Regions from separate parts of the Homo sapiens genome. Here region 1 is linked to region 2. The links are contacts of gene promoters, found by promoter capture Hi-C in blood cells and fetal thymus (Javierre and others, 2016). All regions are on one chromosome and are shown on one strand. Each heading gives the region's core, a stretch centred on a gene start or on the middle of the fragment in contact. The rest is flanking DNA. Distances are from core to core; before and after follow the strand shown. Region 1 overlaps VWC2 (von Willebrand factor C domain containing 2). Region 2 holds the start of ABCA13 (ATP binding cassette subfamily A member 13).

The links. The method cuts DNA at HindIII sites, captures the fragments that hold promoters and counts their contacts. A CHiCAGO score of 5 or more calls a contact.
Region 1: a contact is called between a fragment that was not itself captured here and the fragment with the promoter of ABCA13 in region 2, in 1 of 17 cell types (M1 macrophages). The highest score is 6.3, in M1 macrophages.

Annotation. Positions count from the first base shown.
Region 1 is chr7:49,861,660-49,865,317 of GRCh38, forward strand. The region is part of intron 3 of VWC2 (von Willebrand factor C domain containing 2); the gene reads left to right. It also overlaps a transcript of ZPBP not described here. Among named protein-coding and RNA genes, the nearest start is that of VWC2, 90 kb to the left of the region's middle. The HindIII fragment of the contact is 1,829 bases long and covers 897-2,725 here.
Region 2 is chr7:48,169,629-48,173,336 of GRCh38, forward strand. ABCA13 (ATP binding cassette subfamily A member 13) reads left to right here and starts at 1,830. Exons shown (of 62, transcript NM_152701.5): 1 at 1,830-1,924. The coding sequence starts at 1,856. The HindIII fragment of the contact is 8,502 bases long and covers 1-3,708 here.

The sequences.
Region 1 (3,658 bases), core at 561-3,060, 1.7 Mb after region 2:
TAATTTTTGTATATGGTATGAGGTAGGGGACCAACTTCATTCTTTTGCACATGGCTTTCTAGTTGTCCCAGCACCATTTCTTGCAAAGGCTAATCTTTTCTTCACTGAATAGACTTGGCACTCTTGTCAAAAATCAGTTGGATGCAGAAGTCTGGGTTTACTTTTGGACTCTGAATTTTATTCTATTGTTTATATGTCTGTCCTTATGCCAGTACCACACTGTTTTGATTACTGTAACTTGGTGGTAAATTGGGAATTGTGTGTATTTTGACTTTTTTAAAGATTATTATGGTTATCCAGGGACCTGTGCAATTCCATATGAATTTTAGGATAGGCTTTTCCATTTCCATAAAAAATGGTTGTTGGAATTTTGAAAGGGATTGTATTGACTCTGTAGATTTCTTTGGGAAGTACTGCCATCCTGACAATATTAAGTCTTCCAAGCCATGAACATCAGATATCTTTTCATTTATTTGTGTTTTCTTTAATTTCTTTAAGCAATGTTTTATAGTTTTTAATGCACAAGTCTTTTACCTCAAATTTATTCCTAGATATTTTATTATTTTAGATGCTATTGAAATAGAATTGCTCTCTTAAATTTCTTTTCAAATTATTCATTGCCACTATATAGAAAAACAGCCTTTTTTTGTGTGTCAATCTTGTAACCAGCAAGTTTTCTGAGTTCAATTATTAGCCCTAGTATCTTCTCATGAATTATTTGAGGTTTTCTATAGACAGGATCATACTAACCGTGAATAGAGATAGTTTTATTTCTTCCTTTCCAATTTGGATGCTTTTATTTTCTTTGCCTAGTTGTTCTGGCTAGAACTTCCAATAAATGTTGAATAGCAGTGGTGAAATTGGAAATCCTTGTCTTGTTCCTATTTTAGGGGGAAAGCTTTCATTATTTCACCATTGAGTAAAATGTTAGCTGTAGGTTTTTCATAAAAGACTTTATGATGAGGAAGTTCCCTTCTCTTCCTACTTTGATGTGTTTTTTTTTTCATTATAATAGATCATTGGATTTTGTTAAATGCTTTATCTGCATCAATTGAGATGACCATGAGTTTTTTTTTTTCATTCTTCATTCTGTTAATGTGTTGTATTATGTCCATTAATTTTTGTAGGTTGAATCACCCTTACATTCAAGGAATAAATCCCATTTGGTCATGATGTATAATCCTTTTAATATGCTGTTGTATTCACTTTGCTACTGTTTCACTGAGGATGTTTTTTATCTGTCTCATTAGAGATATTTACCTATACTTTTCTTGTGATGTCTCAATCTGGCTTTGGTATCAAGGTAATGCTGGCCTCTTACAGTGAGGTAGGATGTATTCCTCCCTCTTCTATTATATGGAAGAGTTTGAGAAGGATTTGTGCTAATTGTTTGTTATATGTCTGAAATAATTCACCAGTGAAACCATCTGGTCCTGAACTTTTATTTGTTGGGAGGTTTTGGATTACTGATTCAATATCTTCACTTGTTATAGGTGTTTTGTTATTTTTCTTCTTTGTGAGTCAGCTTAGGTAGTTTGTGTGTTTCTAGGAATTTGTCCATTTCACGTAGTTTATCTAATTTGTTGGAGTACATTTGTTCATAGCAATCCTTTACAATCCTTTCTATTTCTGTGAGCTCCCACTTTCATTCCTGATTTTAGTAATTTGTATCTTCTCTCTTTTTATCTTCGCCACTCCAGCTAAAGATTTGTCAGTTTTGTTGATCTTTACAAAGCACCAAATTTGGCTTTGTTGATTCTCTCTCCCTTTTTTTCTTTTCTTTTCTTTTTTGAGACAAGATCTCACTCTGTCACACAGGCTGGAGTGCATGGCATGATCTCAGCTCACTGCAACCTCCACCTCCTGGGCTCAAGCGATCCTCCTGCCTCAGCCTCCCAAGTAGCTGGGACTACAGGTGTGCACCACCATGCCCAGATAAATTTTGTATTTTGTGTAGAGAAGGGGTCTTGCCATGTTGCCTAGTCTAGTCTTTAACTCCTGAGTCAAGCCATCCGCCCACCTCAGCCTCCGAAAGTGCTGGGATTAGAGACGTGAGCCACTGCACCTGGTCTGCTTTTCTATTCTCTATTTTGTTTATCCTGTGCTAATCTGTATTATTTCCTTCCTCCTGCTAACCTTGGGTTTAGTGTGCTCTCTTTTTACTCATTCTTTTAGGTGTAAAGTTAGATTATCGATTTGAGATCCTTTTCTGTTTTATAATATAAGCATTTATAGCCATAAATTTCCCTTTTAGCATAGTTTTTTCTGTAAGTTTTCGTATGTTGTTTTAAAATATTTTTTCTTTATTTTGTTTTAAAATATTTTCCCTTTAGTTTTGCAAAAATCATATATTGTTTATTATAGTGTGGTAAAATTGGAAATCAGACTGCCCTTCTTCCAGAGGTCTCCTGTTTTTGTTGTTGTTGTTGTTGTTGCGGGCTGTGATTGTTTGTCTGTTTTGTGACTTTTCTTAACTATTTTTCAGACTGTACTCCTTGCCATTGGTGTCACTGAAGTCTGTTCCTTAGATATTGTTCAGTTAGCTTTTTCCAAAGGTTTCCTTGAATATCAAGGGAAAGAGAGGAAGACAGAGAAAGAAGACAAAGAAGGAGGGAGGAGAAGATAGGAGAACCTCTTGTAGTCTCTGCAGAATTGTTCTGTGCTTGGACCTTCCTTCACCCCTTAACTGGATTTCCCAGGAGCCTCAGAATCCACCTGGGATGAAAGCTTAAGGTCTTCTCAGTTTTTTTCTGATCATGCATCTTACCTTGGGCAAGTGCATGGTGTTCTAGATTCCTCCAAATACATGGGTGCTTTAGAATGCCCGAATATCCCAAGGAAGCTCTTTCTGGGCTCTTTCTCCCTCACTCTAGTAGGCCTCTGCATGTCTCAACAGTTGTCTTTTGGCCTGGGTAGTTGGCTGCAGGTTGTTGTCAGCCTTACGGTGTTTTCGAGCATCATCTACTGCTCTTCCATCCCGAATGGCTTCTGAGTTAGGCAAAACAGAGGCCTGCATCTTCTGTTGGTCTTTCAAGTAGCTCCAGACAGTTTCAAACAGACATGCACAATAATTTATGAATGCTGTCTGCTCCCTTCTGAACCCGGGACCAAGTTCCCAGCATGGGAATGGAGACTGCTGCTGAGCAGGGGAGGGTGAAGCAAGGACAATCAAGACTGCCTCAAAGCTTTCCTGCCATTTTTAAGTTGCCTTGTTCGTGATTCAGTGCTTGCTTTGTTGCTGTAAACCTTTGACTGTTTTCCACGTTTCTAATGAAGCTGGTTCTGACAGTTCCTGTTTGTTTTTCAGTGCTCCTGTGGGAAGAATGGGAGGGGTAGAGCTGCCTACTCTCAATTTTTTCTGATATCCCTCTATATTTATTCTTAAAGATCTTATTTTTTGTAAAGAATTGTAAATGGAATACTTTTCTGTCATGTTTTCTTGCTGAAATTTGCCATGTAAAGATGTAATTGATTTTGTATATTGCTTTTATAAGAATATGCCAGTTCAGGAAGAGGAGGAAGAGAATGTGCAGTTCAGTTGTTTGTGTGGTCCGTGGGGTAGGAGAGAAAGGCAAAAGCTTCTTGAGGAACAGTGATGAAAGAGTTGATCTCTGAAATCTGAGTACCTTGGATCAAGTAATAGATTCTCTCCTATCCA
Region 2 (3,708 bases), core at 580-3,079:
ATTGCTTGTTTGTTTTCTTGGCTGAAACACGGAACAAAAGATAGCATTATTCTGGGAGTTTCTGCAAGGGTGTTTATAAATGACATTAATATTTAAGTAGGTAGACTGAATTCAGCAGATGGCCCTCCCTAGTGTGAGTGGGTCTCATCCAATTAGTTGAAGACCTAAACAGAACAAAAAGTCTGACTTTCCCCTAAGTTAGATAATTATTTCTGTCTGATGGCCTTCATACTGGGACATTGGCTTTTTTTTGTTTTCTGCCTTCAGACTTTATGGAAATACCAGCTTGTCCTGGGTCTCAAGTTTCCCAGTCTTTGGATGGCAACTACACCATTGGCTCTCCTGTTCTCAGGTCTTTGGACTCGGACTGGAACTATATCATTGGCTTCCTTGGGTCTCTGACTTGCTAATTCACCTTGCAGATCTTAGGACTTGCCCACCTCCATGACTGTGTGAGCCTATTCCTTATAATCAATCAATCAATCGATCAATGAATCACCCATTGGTTCTGTTTATCTGAAAATCCTAACACAGCATTGTTCCATGAAAGCAATGGATGAGATAATTTTTGTGTCTCTGACATAATTCTGGCATAGCAGCATAAAAACTGGCTGCTATGAACATAACATGAGAAAAACCTTATGGTTGGAGGCTTTTTCTTATACTAGATTTTTAAAAATTATGACAATTACTTGTAAGGTGTTCTAGATGTTATCTGCAAAGAGAACCAGAGTAGCAATACTTAGGCAACCCCAAAGACCTTTGAGAAGTCACAGGTCAAGGGGGAACATCATATGGGGATCAGGCAAATCCACTTATGGTTGCTGGGCGCCATCCTGCTAAGTAATGGCCTTCACTCTAGTGCTGCCAGCCATGTAACAAAAAATAAAATAAAATAGGCATGCTCTAAACAAATAAGTTTACAAAATAATTGAGTCAGTTTCTTTGCTGAAGCCTGTGTTCCCTGTTTCCTATTGCAAAAGCCATTTATCAAGCATTCACAGCTTGTGAAAATTGCTTTATGAAATAGAAGACCACAAGACTGGGTTGCCTGAAATCCTTCTGACCACAACTGGGGGCAACAGGAACTCAAGAGGGCCTGGCTTCCAAGACGATGGAGCCACCAGCTGGCAAGCTGAATCCATCATGCCACTTAGAAAGTGCAAGTGTTCAGGAATCAAACAGGACTCAGAGGTAATCCACAGGCCACTTGCTGAGTCCTGCCACATCTGCACCCGATACCATTTGAAACGTAGATCCTGATCCCTTTGGAGGAAATGGGTGAAGGAGAAGTATGAAGTGCAGGTGCAGTAGCAGAGTGGAACTTGAGTCACCCATTCCCCAAACTCCCCCAGACACCAACACTGCTTCCATCTCCTTCCCTTCAAACTCTCTGCCATGGGACCACCAAAATTGAAATATTTTGGCAAATTTGTGTAATAACCAATGCTTCAGAAGAAAAAAGGAAAATTCCATCTAATTAATATCCAGAAAAAAAGGGAGGTAAATGGTAAATGTGGGCATTACTTCTTGTCGCACAGATCAGTTCTGTGGGTTCTCGGAAAGGGAGGGCACCCTCTCTGTGTATGTGTGTATGCCCGAGAAAGTCCCTGAAGGCAGCTTTCTGTAATTCAACCCTCCTGAAACACTGAACAGCTAGTGAAAAGATTTCTCAGCAGATGCCGAACAAGAGGGGACATCTGATGCCTGTTTTATTCAGTCACCAGTAATCTCTCTTGCATCACTCACTTTTGTTAGAATTGACTAATAGGCAACATGCCTTCACTTGAGCCCAGCAGATATAAGCACCATCCTTACAGGCTGGCTTCCTGACTGAGAGCAGGGAGCAGCAGGCATGGGGCATGCCGGGTGCCAGTTCAAAGCCCTGCTGTGGAAGAATTGGCTCTGCAGACTCAGGAACCCGGTGAGTGCTTGCCTTGGTTTTCCATAGGGTTCCAGTGAGGTCTGGAGCAAGATCAGGGTCTATTCTTTCCTGCCTGCCTCTGCCTCCTGGCAGGTAAAAACACTCATGCTGCAGGGAATTTGGGGAGGTTGGATTATTTTAAATCAAAACCCGTCCCAAGGGCCAAAGTAGCTGAACACTTTAATGACCAGGATGAAATCAAGGCTGAAGAATTTATCAGAAAAGGGCAAATTTAGAAAAATTCTAAAAACAAACAAACAAAAAAGCAGGTGGAATTGAACTATAATTTGTGTTCTAAGCATTCGTTGTAAAAACTGAACAGTGAATTCTCAGGTTTAAGGAACAAAGCATTTGCTGCATTTAATGCATAAGCAGAATGCTACAGGTACTGACTCCGAAGCACAAGACTGCACAGTGTGCCTCACCAGAGCAGGGTATGACACATCCACTCTGTTATTCTGTAGGGTCACCATCTTTAGTGTTAATTCACATCTATTTAGAACTGTATTCAAATTACATTAGCAAGGTTTTCCTAAGGAGATTGGAATTGTTCAAATGAAACTTGTGTGAATACTTATGCAAATATCCTGTAAGTGTACGTTTTTGTGAAATAGAAATCAATTGCTTGTTATTATGACTAACTTTATTCCTGATGCCACTATATAAACATTAATACCTATAAATGTCATTTTCAGGAGAAGTAGATGTGCAGTAATTTACCTGCATCGTTTCTGATTTTAAGGTCTACAGTTAACCTATGGGAATTTTCTGCTGACAAATGCTTTGGTTTGAAGAGATTCAGTAATTGACATTGAATTACATTTTGCTGAATCCTCCGAGCCAGAATATTCTATCTCTCTGTCTTGAAATAAAATACAAGTTAAAGGAGATGTTTTCTTTTTTATGTGATCTTTAGGATCAAAATAATTTCAGTTGAAAGTTTGTACAAAAGTTTTAAGTTGGCCGGGCGCGGTGGCTCACGCCTGTAATCCCAGCACTTTGGGAGGCCGAGGCGGGCGGATCACGAGGTCAGGAGATCGAGACCATCCTGGCTAACACAGTGAAACCCCGTCTCTACTAAAAAAACACAAAAAAATTAGCCGGGTGTGGTGGCGGACGTCTGTAGTCCCAGCTACGCGGGAGGCTGAGGCAGGAGAATGGCGTGAACCCGGGAGGCGGAGCTTGCAGTGAGCCGAGATCGCGCCACTGCACTCCAGCCTGGGCGACAGAGCGAGACTCCGTCTCAAAAAAAAAAAAAAAAAAAAAAAAAAAAAAAAAAAAAAGTTTTAAGTTCAGGAATAAAGGAGTGAGACAGTCTTCATTGATTGTTAGTGTGTTCGTGTCTGTGTAGGTAGTTTTACATTTATAAACAGTGTATTTCATTGACATGTAAGTTTGTTTTAGGGAATTAGCCTATTTTCCCATGAAAGAGTGTTATGGGTGGAAGTTGGTTCCCAGGCACTGCTCTTTCTGCTTTATGCATATCTACCTCAAAACAGTTCAGTGACCGAGGTAGCCAGACTGCCTACTCCTCCTTAATGGATACTTGAGTTTTAAAAAATTTTCACAATTACTTTTGCTGCTAAGGCAAACATCCTCATCAGAAGGTTTTATTTGTTTGATAACTGTTTATTTAAAGTGGTAACTCCTGCATCCCACTTTTCTTTGACTTATTTTTCTTTAGTATTTATCATCTTGTAACACACCACAGATTTTCTTATTTGCCGATTGCCTCTGGATCCTACATTAGTATGTTACATGCATGAGAGCAGGACATTTTCCCC